Linked DNA regions of Homo sapiens: region 1 is linked to region 2. Evidence: promoter capture Hi-C in human tissues and cell types (Jung and others, 2019). All regions are on one chromosome and are shown on one strand. The core of a region is centred on a gene start or on the middle of the fragment in contact, and the rest is flanking DNA. Distances in the headings are between cores, read along the strand shown. Region 1 overlaps LRBA (LPS responsive beige-like anchor protein). Region 2 holds the start of DCLK2 (doublecortin like kinase 2).

Region 1 (6,094 bases), core at 1,754-4,253, 320 kb after region 2:
GGGAACAATCCCACCCAAGACCAGTGAGTACCTGAATAAACACTATTATATGCTTGTAGTCATGGCTTAAATGCAGGAGCATAACACAATTGTACTGCCCATTTGCAAGATATATTTATCAGCAGTGTATCAAATGTATAAAAAAGTGATAGGGAGACTAGAAGGACGTTATTACCATAGTTCATATAAGAGATAAGAAAGGCTACTGTGGTAAAAATGAGCCAGCAGAGTTAGGAAAAGATGTTCTAATTACTTCAATCAATTATATGCTAATATTATCTATTACTAAAGAAGATAAAAATGGGATTAAGTGTACATAATAGAATTATCATCTATCCTATTATTTACCTTAATATATTTAAATTCCATATTAATATATTTACTGTAACATGTCTAAAACTGAATTTATCTTCCTCAAAGAACTTATCTTTTCCTCTTTCTGTAATGCCTATTTCAATTGTTAGTATGACAATTCATGCAGTAACTTTAGTTAAAAATCTCAATATTATCTTCAACTTCTTCCCCTTATGTTCTTTATGACTCTGATATGTCTCTAGAATCTAGAATGTCTTCTCTGTCCTCTCTGTCATTGTTTTAACTAAGGTCATCATCTCCTGCTTAATTTCCTTTAACTGTTATGGCCTCCTAATTGATTTTCCTGTCTCCATTCTTTCCTAGCTTGAGTCCGATACTCACACTGCCATCTTCCTAATGAATAAATTAAATATAATTATATCATTCCCATGTCTTTTTAGCAGTTCCTGGCTGTCTGTAAGAGAAAGTACCAACTCCTCAGCAAGGTATAAATGCCTCTTCATAAATGTGACCTCAACTTAACCTCCCAAGCCTCATCCCTGGCTATTCTTTCCCAAGAAACCTATGCAATGGCCATACAAAAAATTCCATTATCTTAATCTTTTCCTATACTATAAGCTTATTCATTTCATATGGCACTTGTCAAATATCAGTGTCTGGGAAAGGTTTGAGTGAACATTTTTAATCAATTGCTATTTAGTAAATAAACCAACAATCTTTCAGTACAATCTACAGTATTCTACTGGTAATTGATTCTCTAGAATTGAAAAAAAAATTTCCCTCAGCATCTTTCCCCCGTAGACTATTATGATGATTAATTTTGTGTCAACTTGAGTGGGCTGCGGGATGCCCAGATAGCTGGTAAGACATTATTTCTGAGAATGTCTGTGAGGGTGTTTCCAGAAAAGGTTAGCATCTGAATCAGCACACTAAACAAAGAAGATCCACTCTCACTAACATGGGCAGGTATCATCCAATCCAATGAGTACCAGAACAGAATAAAAAAGCAGAAGGATGAATTCCCTCCACCCACTCCTTGAGTTGAGACACCCATCTTCTCTTGCCCTTAGGCATTAGAGCTCCTGGTCTGTGAGTCTTCAGACTCAGGGACTTACACCAGTGCCCTACTCCTGGGAATTTAGGCCTTTGGCATCAGACTGGGAGTTACACCATTGGTTCCCCTGGTTCTTAAGACTTCACACTTGGGCTGAATTGTACCACCAGCCTCTGGGTCTCTAGCTTGAATATGGCATACTGTGGTGCTTCTCAGCCCCCATAATCACACATGCCAATTCCCATAATAAATCTCATCTCACACACACACACACACACACACACACACGTACTCCCAGAAATAATGTTTATCACTTATCCTGGCATCCCTCAACCCACTCAAGCTGGCATATAAAATTAACCATAATAGTAGTCTACAGGGAAAAGCTATTGAGGGAAAATTCTTTTCAATCACTCTAGAGAATCAACTAGTAGTAGAATACGAATGTATTGGTTTATTTACTAATTAGAGATTGATGAAAAATGTTTGCTCACAAGCCTTTCCCAGGTACTGACACTTGACAAGTGCCATATGAAATGAATAAACTTATAGTCTAGAAAAAATAGGAAATGATTAGGACAATGAATTTTCTATATGGCTGTGGCATAGGTTTCTTTTATTATACAAACACTCACACACATAAACATATATAGATGTTATTGGCTCTGATTCTCTGGGAAATCTTAATACAACTACAAAACTTTATTTGCCACTTGTTCCCACTTTCAAAACACAATTTACTATTTATTTCCATTATTAAAAATAATAACTAATCATTAAAAACATTTGAAAAGCAACGGAAAGAGAAAAGCAAAAAAACACTGACGCTTTAAGACACTGGAGTAGGTGTATGTCCTTGTAATGTTTTTATTACATTGAGATATCATACACATAAACACATCTTATATACTACATTTTTATATCCTAAATTTTTCTTTTCTCCGAATTCTAAAATAAAATAAATTTTCATATTTTTTCTGATGAAAAGTGAAAAATGAAAGTAATTTTCCTCTCATTAAGTGCATATTTTCATACAATGTACGATACAAAAAGGTATTCATTTTTTTCTTTTTTGAAGACAGGGTCTTGCTCTGTTGCCTGGTCTGGAGTGCAGTGACACAATCAGGGTTTGCTGCAGCCTCAGCCTCCCAGGCTCAAGCATCCTTCTGCCTCAGGCTCCCAAGTAGCTGGGACTACAGGCACATGACACCATGCCCAGCTAATATTTTTACTTTTTGTAGAGATGGGGTCTTACTATGTTGTCCAAGCTAGCTTCAAACTCCCAGGCTCAAGCAATCCTCCTCCCTTGGCCTCCCAAAGCACTGGGATTATAGATATGTGCCACCATGCCAGGCCTAAGAATGTATTCTTAAAATAGGTATGGTCTCATTTGTACAACTAAAACTTATTAAAACATATGCAGTAGTATAATTTTATCATAGGAAGTATAATGTAGAGTATAACAACACAGGTTTCTTGCACTGGAATCCCAGTTCAATATTTATGATTGCTGTGACAAGTTACCTAAACTCACAAGTTACCTAAACTCTCTATGCCTCAAGTTTCTAATCTACAGGTTGAGAGTAATAATAGCACTTACCTCATAAACTTATTGTGAGACCTAGATGAGTTAATCCATAAATGGCTTACAACAATGTCTGGTGCATATTATTAAGTGTTCAACGCACGACAGCTCTTATTATCCTTCTAAAAATCTAAAGTTTAATGAACAAAATCCCATTAAACAAAGCGAAATATAAATTTTGTCTATTGAAAATATGTTGCACAGTGAGCATTACAAAAATAATTACATATATATTTTAGTATCTTCTCTAGCACAGAAAAAAAGTAGAAAGAAGAAAATAAGGGATCATGAGATCCTGGCAAGAGTTTTTCTCCACAGACATTCTGTTGGTGGAATAGAAATATGTGAGATGGTGAATGGAACAGATCTAAATAAGCATGGGACTAACAAAGTACAATGTATGAAAGATTTTACTTAGAAAAAACAATTACAAATTGACTATACAATCAATAAGACTAACCGAAGGGAAATGCAGTAAAACACTTTCAAAGAAAAATACTGTGGAGCCCAGAAGAAAATAAGCCAATTGACAGAGGTAGATTTCACGAGCTCATAAAAATGAAAAAGTAAATGCTGCTGGACAAAAAGTGGTCCTTACTTTTGCTCTCAATGTTTCTAGTATGCTATGTAGAACAATTATTTTGCTTTTACTGAAAAATAACTATTGCATTTGGTATAAAACGATTCATAGGAAAAATTATTTTTTACTTCTGAATAATTAATGTATTTCTTAAGTAATAGAGGAAACTATTAATTAAGAGGCATTCATGAAGGTGGATATCTTACACCTAAACATTTTAGACTTGTTTTCCAATTTTCTTTCTTTCTTTTTTTTTTTGAGACAAGGTCTTGCTCTGTCACCCAGGCTGGAGTGTAGTAGTGCCATCACAGCTCACTGCAGCCTCTACTTACTGGGCTCAAGTGATCATCCCACATCAGCCTCCCATGTAGATGGAACTACCGGCATGTGCTACCACACCTAGATAAGTTTTTTTGTTTTTTGTAGAGACAGAGTCTTGCTGTGTTGTTCAGGCTGGTCTCAAACTCCTGGGCTCAAGCAATCCTCTGCTTTAGCCTCCCAGAGTGCCGGGATTTACAGGTGTGAGCCACCATGCCCAGCCCTTTTCAATATTGTTTTTGAAAATTCCATCCTATACTGCCAAATATAAATATATCCCAAGAAATTAAAATACAGAAAATTAAATTGCAAAGAAAATATGGTTGCAGAATTCTTGCAATTTAATTTTAGTAAATTCTTTATCTTTTTTATTAACATACCTTAAAATTGCTATGCACATATTTTCTGTCTCAGTTATGTACTCAACTAGAAATTACCTTTACTTAACTACCTGTATTTTATTGAAATACTGTGCCCATCCTGCATGGACTATTTTGCGTCACTTATTTTATGAATATCACTATTGGATATGCTCTTTTGCACCAATAGACTCTTATTCAGGTATGACACACAGAGACACAAAATGCTAAATTCTCCTTTCCTGTGACCATGGCAGAAACTACTAATCAATATTCTTGGGCAAAGTTGGTTCTCAAGATGCTCAAGCTCTGCTGTTGTCATAAAGCATTTTGGTTCTCTTCTGATACTTTTTGAAGACTCATCCATTTTTCATTCTTTCAGCAAACATGACCATGATACCCCATATAGACCAGATATTGTGCTACAGTTGCGAAAACAAAGAATAAGAGAGGTCCTCAAGCGGCTCAACATCTCATGGTGAAAATGAGATGCTGAGCCACCACTAACATGCTAGCTGTTAAGTATGTCCACTTAAAAGAGAACACAGGAGAAACATCTCAGGCGGACTCTGTTGGCGTGGTTGGTGGTGAGGGAATGTTGAAGAGTGGATAGAGGTATAATTAAAGGCTTTCTGGATGGCGTGGTGGCTTATATGAGTAGTCCCAGCACTTTGGGTGGGATTACAGCACTTGAGGTCAAGAGCTGGAGATGTGCCTGGCCAATATGGTGAAACCCCGTCTCTACTAAAAATACAAAAATTAGCAGCTGAGTGTGGTAGTGTGGCGCCTGTAATGCCAGCTACACGGGAGGCTGAGGCATGAGAATCACTTGAACTCAGGAGGTGGAAGTTTCAGTGGGCGGAGATCGCACCACTGCACTCCAGCCAGGGTGATGAAGTGAGACTCTGTCAATCAAACAATCAATCAATCAATCAATCAAGGCTTCCCAAGGGGGAGGAATCTGGCATTTTTGTAGGCAAAGGAAACAGCTTATAAGATGTGAGAGAACACAGCCATTTTAGAGAAGTGTACATTGTTCAGTGTTACTGGACTATAGTTTTCAAGAGATGAAGTTGGGGAAGTAAGCAGGTAAATTGTGAAGATCATTCCAAGTCATGTTGTAAAGCTGGGAAAGCTATAAGTAACCACTGAAGAATTTTAAGCAGTATTTGTGAGAGCCTCCAATTTAGGGAGTATCCAATTTATAAATATCTTCATATAGTTTAAAAAGAAATAGTTATTTTATGTGGTTTCCTATGGCACCAACTAGAATGTTTCTGGGATGATCCAGAAACATGTACAAGTGATCTGCTGCTGAGATGCAGATTATATTTCTTCAAAAAAACCTGGATCAAAAATTTTGTCGTTTTACTTTTAAAACGAATTTGAGTCAGAATCCATTATATATTATTCTCTGGTGTAGAGCATAATGGAATAACTATAATACAGCTCAATAAAAATGAAAACAAGAGGATATCATAAAAAGACGGTTTCAAAGAACATTTTGAGGCCAAGTGCAGTGGCTCATGCCTGTAATCCCAGCACTTTGGGAGGACAAGGAGGGAGGATGGCTTGAAGCCAGGAGTTTGAGACCAGCCTGAGCAAACATTAGGAGACCCCCATCTTCACAAAAAATAAAATTAGCTAGATGTGGTGGCATGTGCCTATAGTTCTAGCTACTCGAGAAGCTCACTTGACTCCAGGAGTTTGAGACTGTAGTAGGCTATGATCAGCCACTGCACTCCAGCCTGGTGACAATGAGATGCTGTCTTAAAATTAAAAAAATAATAAAAAAAGAAGTTTTCTTTCAAAAAGACAGAACAAGTAGTTGAGTGAGTGTTATGGGTTGAGCTGTGTCCCCTCCAACACAACTCCATATGTTG
Region 2 (6,722 bases), core at 762-3,261:
CATGACAAGGAACTGAGGCCTCCTTACCATTCATGTGAATGGGCTGTCTTGGAAATGGATCTTCTTGACCCAGTCAAGCCTTTAGATGGCTGTGACCCCTGTCAACATCTTGACAGCAATCACATGAGGCTTTGAGGTAAACTGCTCCCAGATTTCCGATCTGCCAAAAATGCTGAGATTATGCATGTTTATTGTTGTAAATCATTAAGTTTAGGATAATTTGTTTCTACAGCAATAGTTTACAAAGTCTTTTTCCCCCTAAGAAATACTAACAGTGATACAAATGAACATGGCCATCTTAAGGCAAGTTGATGGGCTCTGTGGAGTTACTGGTACTTAGATGGAAACTTATCTCAATAAATTTGCAATTTAGTTTCTTGTTTCTCAAAGTCTTGTACCAAGACCAGCAGCATTGGCATTACCCAGGGGCTCATCAGAAATGCAGAATCTCAAACTCCACCCCAGAGCTACAGAATAGCAATCTGCATTTTAACGAGATTCCCCTATGACATGTAAATATATTAAAGTTTGAGAAGAAGCACTGATTTATTTGATTCCTGGTGTTACAGCCTGTGGTTGGAAACTCTGGATATACCTTAGGGGTACTTTTAAAAAAATACTGTTGGAGAAGCCCGTCTCCAGAAATTCTGATTTAACTGATCTAGGTTGAGGCCTTTTAAGGTGGTGGACCTAATGATGCTGCAGGATTTTCCTCTAGAAAAACTACATTGAAGCCTCAGATCAGCTCTGACTTCCTAGCATGCCCCAACCCCGCAGGAAGTTAGGTATGCCCAGGTGTATGCCCAGAACTGCCTTAGGAGTAGTATTGTGCACCGAGCAGGAGACCTTTCTGGAGCTGCCATGAAGGGTGTGTATGCGTGTGTGTGCGTGTGTTTGGTGGGGCGCACCAACTTCACAGATGCTAGACCGTTGCATGTGCTTCTACCTTCTTTTATTCATGCTCTTCCAGGACTCAGTTCAACCCGAAAAAAAGCAACTATGCCTTTCTTCCTGAAAGGTCAGTTTGGATTGCTGTCTAGGGCTGCTCAGAAAACCAGGTGTTGAATGTTCTAAGGTTTCACGTGCCAAATTGGGATCAAACATATTTGAGCTTTATTTTTCCTAATAACAAAATGCAAGTAACTAGTATTTCTCTTAAGTCTTGGAAAAGATGTTTTTATTGTTGAATAGACACTACGGCATTAAGATTTCCACTATGATGGGTGCTCACAAATGATAGGCCTCTTAGGTAAGAAGCTTTAATTGACAACATTAAATATGCGGGGCGGGGGGAGTGGGTGCAGAGTCTCTCTTTCCTTTGTTAGGGCATCCCAGTGACAGAAACAATGCCTGACACATGGTACGCTCTCGATAAATATTCGTTGATTACATAACCCCCTCTACCACCCAATAACTTCTCATCATTCATTCAAAGTTACTGAACGTACCATATTAGCGAATCTGCAATGGAAACAGTGGAGGCTGTTTTCTCAAAGGATTTTCTAATAAAGCAACAAATCTTTTTTAAAAAAAATGAATGGTGTGCCCCAAGTCAATGCTGGGCTTCGGATTTCTGCGGTAGTTTGGCCTGGGGTCCTCACTGGGATGCTGGCTGGGGATGTGCTCCCTGCCCTTGAATCTCCTTCCTTTGTAGTTTTTGGCCTGCGCGGTTACGTTTCCCAGGCGGAGGAGCGCGCGTCGCGGCTGCGCCCATTAACGCGCGGCGCCGGGCAGGAGCCGTCAGGCGGGCGGGGCTGCCCGGGACCCGCAGGAGCTGCTCCTCCCGCGCCGGCGCTCGGCCCCCTCCTCCGCCCCCTCCTCCGCCCCCTCCTCCCCTTCTCCGCGGTTTGGCATCCCCGGGGCCGGGAAGCCTCCTCCAGCGCTGACAGCCTGTCGGCGGCGGAGGGAGGCCAGAGCGCGGATGCTTGCCAGTGGGCCGGGCCTGACCGCTGCGTGGGAGGCGGGCTGCATTATTTCCCGCTAGGGCCGCGCTCCAGGGAAGGAAGGGGCCAGACACGGCCCTCTCAGCCCCGAACGGCGCGCGCTGCCCGGCGGGCGGGATCCGGGCGCGGCCGAGGCGGCGGCGCTGCACCCCGGGCCTGGGCCCGCGCGACTCCCCCGGGGGCCTCTCCCACGCTCCGCGCCCCGCCCCACCCTTCCTTCCTTCCTCCCCTCGGCGCTCCCGGGAGCGCTCGGCAGACGCCCGAGCTTTGTGGGCGCCCGCGGGCCCAGCGCGAGCCTCGGGCGGCCCAACTTTGCCTCTCCCGGTCGGCTCCCGAGCGGGACTTGTGAGGCGTGGCCGGGTGGAGGAGGCGCTTGCGGGGGCGTGGGGCTCCCCGGCAGGCGGGAGGCACGGAGCAAGTCGCACTGGACAATGACCTGGGCAGCTCGGCGCTGCGGACACTTTTAGCTGAGGGCGCGGGCGGGTCGGCTCCTCCGCGGCTCCTCGGCCCCACCTGCGCGGAGAGGGCGGGATGCCAGAGCCAGGTGTCCCGGCGCGTTAAGGGCCCTCGCAGTCAGACGTCCCTGCACCGGCGCTCGCACCCTTAGTCGGCCCGGAACGTCTTTTTGCGGACGCCCTCGGAGCAGCCGCGATGGCCAGCACCAGGAGTATCGAGCTGGAGCACTTTGAGGAACGGGACAAAAGGCCGCGGCCGGGGTCGCGGAGAGGGGCCCCCAGCTCCTCCGGGGGCAGCAGCAGCTCGGGCCCCAAGGGGAACGGGCTCATCCCCAGTCCGGCGCACAGTGCCCACTGCAGCTTCTACCGCACGCGGACCCTGCAGGCCCTCAGCTCGGAGAAGAAGGCCAAGAAGGCGCGCTTCTACCGGAACGGGGACCGCTACTTCAAGGGCCTGGTGTTTGCCATCTCCAGCGACCGCTTCCGGTCCTTCGATGCGCTCCTCATAGAGCTCACCCGCTCCCTGTCGGACAACGTGAACCTGCCCCAGGGTGTCCGCACTATCTACACCATCGACGGCAGCCGGAAGGTCACCAGCCTGGACGAGCTGCTGGAAGGTAGGAGGGGAGGGCGCCGCACGGCAGGTGCGGCGGAGCGCCGGCAGGTGCAGTGGGCGTGAGCCGGCGCAGCGGGGAGCCCGCGGGGTGCTTTCCAAGCCGCACGGGAATTGATGCTTCTGTCTGCTTCTCTAGAGATTGGCTGGGGGTGGGGGCCGGTGGGGTGCCCACATACACACTGACTTTCCTTCCCAAGAGGTTTGTCTCTTAAAGAAGGAAAAAATTTCCTGATGGTCAGGCCAATTTAGGCACTGGTGGCATCTCCTAAGATTGTTGAACTTATTTGTATTGAAGTGCAAACTGTTTGAGAAAATGGTTCTCCCATGGGGAGCTGGGTAATCCCCTACTAATAAGCTCTGTTGGACCCTCGGTGTGGACCCTGGTGCAGGCTCCTGTCATGTTCCAGTATTCGGGGTCCTGTTGTGACTGCTGTCAGAAGCTGTGGTTGTGAAATGCTCTAGGTTGGCTTTCCTAGTTTGCCTTGCAGCAGAAGTTACTTGAGGTGAAGAGGGATGATCCTAGACAGCAGGTCTCAACCTTGGCTTCATCTTGGATCACACTGGGGACTTCGAAAAATATGGGACCCTGATCCCCCAACCCCCAGATATCCTGATTAAATTGGTTGGGTTTGGGGTGTGGGTTAGGCGTCTGGAGTCTCAAAAGCCCCCCCCCCAGGTGATTCTAATGTGGGACCCTGGTTAACAATCACCGTGCTAAAGGGTTTTCCACATTTGGTTGGAAAAAAGGTAAATCAAGGTCAATCTCTCCAGCCTTATCCTCTAATAAGAGTACCTAATTAGAATGATAGAGGCCATTGGATTCAGCAGTGGGGACTTATTAAAAATTAGTAATTCTGCTGTGTCAACCATGCCTCGGTCAAAGAGACTGCTTGGCTGGATGTTGGGTCATCCTTGAATTCCTGCAATACGTATGCCTCATCCTTTTCAGGTAGAAAAGGCATTATCAGTGGTTAAGAACCTGTTTCCAGTTCTAAATAACATCCAGAAAGACCAGGCAGAACCCAGGTATGTGCTGACTGCGTGTTTACATACAGTCCGCTCTTGTGCATCTTTCTTAATGCAAATGGCACATTCCATGTAGTCATAGCAATAGCTTGGCAGGGAGAGGAAGCTGAACATCAAGCCAGATGTTTTTCTTATATTATCTCAGCATGCTTTTCTGTCCTGAAGGCATTATCCCCATTTTATAGATGAGGAAACTTAGGCAGCATGCCTTGCCTCACAGTGCCTGCAGCATATACTTTCTCGTCTACGATTCACCTCTGCTGAGCTAATGGAGCCACATGGAGGAAAACTAAAGGTCGTTGAGTTTGTCTATTTAGTCAGAAGTTTTTGCTGCCCTGCCTAGAACGCGACCCAGCCAAAATTAAATTGTCTCTTCAGTCTACATATGTATGTGCTTGTGACTTCACCCATTCTGTCAGTTGTGTGTTTTGGTTTTAAGGGCTTCTTGAGGAGGTAAGGGGATAGCTGGAGGAGTATAAGTAAAAAAGGAAGATACAATGTTCAAAGGGCCTTGTTGCTTTTCTTAATCATGTTAAACACTTAAAAGCAATATTTGCCTAGCTATTTTAAAACAGAGTAACCAGTTGTTTGACTGACCCAAGATCAGATTTGCAGGATCAAGGCAATGCCTGTTTGCTTAAGCACTTGTTACTCAACATGCCATTGGGATACTACTGTTCCTGGTATGGTTTCTTAAGAGTCAACAATGTTAATATCCTTCTCTAAAGAAATTTTAACAGTGGATTTACTACATAAAATTGACATAACGTAAACATGAATCTCATAGGAGAGATGATAAGATGGACATTATGCATGTCCATTAATAGGAGTACTTAGTATAGATTGCGTCTTTTACCGCCCACCGCATGCATGTCCACTGGGTCTACTTCTGCAACTGTAGTTTCAACTACAAATTGACTTAACAAATTTCCTTCAAATCATTCACTGATTTTTAGTGGATGGGGATTTGGAAAAAACATTATCTATGGAGTCCAAATCATACCAAAATATGATAAATAATATAACAAATAGTTGCACAGCCAAAATTTTTTTTATGACTTTGCCCACTTCTTTGAAGAAGTTTTTAATACAATAAAATTACTGCAAAAGAAGAAAACTTGGACACTTTTTTTGTCATATGGAACTCTCTCTGACAATGGGTCTTTGTTTAATTCTTCAGTTTTCCCCCAAATTAGTAGAATACTCCATAGCAATGCAATTTTTTTTTTAAAGAAAATATAGGTACAATAGTTCACGTCTGTAATCTCAGCACTTTGGGAGACTGAGGTGGGTGGATCACCTGAGGTCAGGAGTTCGAGACCAGCCTGACAAACAAGGTGAAACCCCATCTCTACTTAAAAAAAAAAAAAAAAAATTAGCCGGGTGTGGCGGCAGGCGCCTGCAGTCCCAGCTACTCAGGAGGCTGAGACAGGAGAATTGCTTGAACCCAGGAGGCGGAGGTTGCAGTGAGCCAAGATCACACCACTGCACTCCAGCCTGGGCGATGGAGCAAGACTCTGTCTCAAAAAAAAAAAAAAAAAGAAAAGAAAAAAAGAAAAAGAATCACGAATGCTTACTGTCAATCATTCCAGAATGTAAGTAGTTTCAACTTTTAATTAAAATTGTGTGCTCAGATTTTTCATGTAGGAGAACTAAGCAGCTATCTGTGAAGTTATTTGCATTAGTAAAAATAAGTCTGTAATATATTCACCACATTGTCAAAATTGACTGCTTTATTTCGTTTTGGTTGATTATTTTTAATAAAGCTCTCTCAGGTAGTATTTTACAACATTATGTTCAACTAGGCTCTACTTCTTCGATCCCATGAAACTTGTAGTTTAAGAGGTATGTTTTTTTCTGAAATGTCTTGAGTGAAGAATAGAAAGTGATGACTCAAAACAGTAGGATATGAACATTCATTCAGAGCCCCAATCTCATTGAACTCAGATGACAAAAGAAATTTGCATGGCCCAAATTATTTTTTCTTCTGCCCTTGACCTTGAGAGTCTCTGGAGACTAAAAGCTGTTCTAGTGTGAGCTGGCACTCCTCCAGCACTACACTAAACCAGCAAGCACCTTCAATTTATTGATTTATCCATCCTTGCTGGATTAAGTTTGAGTTGATGCTGTGCAGTCCTGTAATCCTGTTTATTCTTTAAAACTAGTTGGGGGACCTCTTCCGGCAGGACTGTGGCTCTTAATCAATATTGGAAAAATTAGTTGAGCTGTCTTAAGCTGTGAGCCTGCTGAGCTCAGTATCTGTAATAACCAACAGAGAATGTCCAGATGACTTGTTCTTTAGCTTTCTTATTAGGGACTGATTCAGAATTCCTAGTCTTAGTTCTGTTCCGTGTGTCTTCTCTCCTTCTGAGCGTTTGGTCTTCTCTCCTTCTGAGCATTTTGAAATATTTATAAAGTTTTGATGACCTAAAGAGATATAACCAAGGACAGTAGAAAAAGTGCCTGACCAAGTCAGGATTCCTGAGTTCTACTGACTAGATTTGAGAAAAATTTCACCTCACTTCCCTGGCCTTGGCATCCTTTTCTCTAGGATGAGAAGTTGGCAGACCACCTAAGTTAGGTCTCTTCTGGTTTAAAAATGTGTATGTACCCGTTAATTATCTGAGGGGTTATTGTTGGAGCATATGATGGCTTGGGCTGCCATTCCCTAGCCAGAACCCA

What was found. Contacts are between HindIII fragments. The study calls those that stand out against the background at their distance.
Region 1: a contact is called between a fragment that was not itself captured here and the fragment with the promoter of DCLK2 in region 2, in 1 of the 25 tissues and cell types used here (mesendoderm cells).

Annotation. Positions count from the first base shown.
Region 1 is chr4:150,394,853-150,400,946 of GRCh38, forward strand. All of the region lies in intron 47 of LRBA (LPS responsive beige-like anchor protein), which reads right to left. Among named protein-coding and RNA genes, the nearest start is that of LRBA-AS1, 180 kb to the right of the region's middle. The HindIII fragment of the contact is 5,133 bases long and covers 438-5,570 here.
Region 2 is chr4:150,076,434-150,083,155 of GRCh38, forward strand. It overlaps DCLK2 (doublecortin like kinase 2), which reads left to right and starts at 2,012. Exons shown (of 16, transcript NM_001040260.4): 1 at 2,012-3,015. The coding sequence starts at 2,595. The HindIII fragment of the contact is 8,036 bases long and covers 489-6,722 here.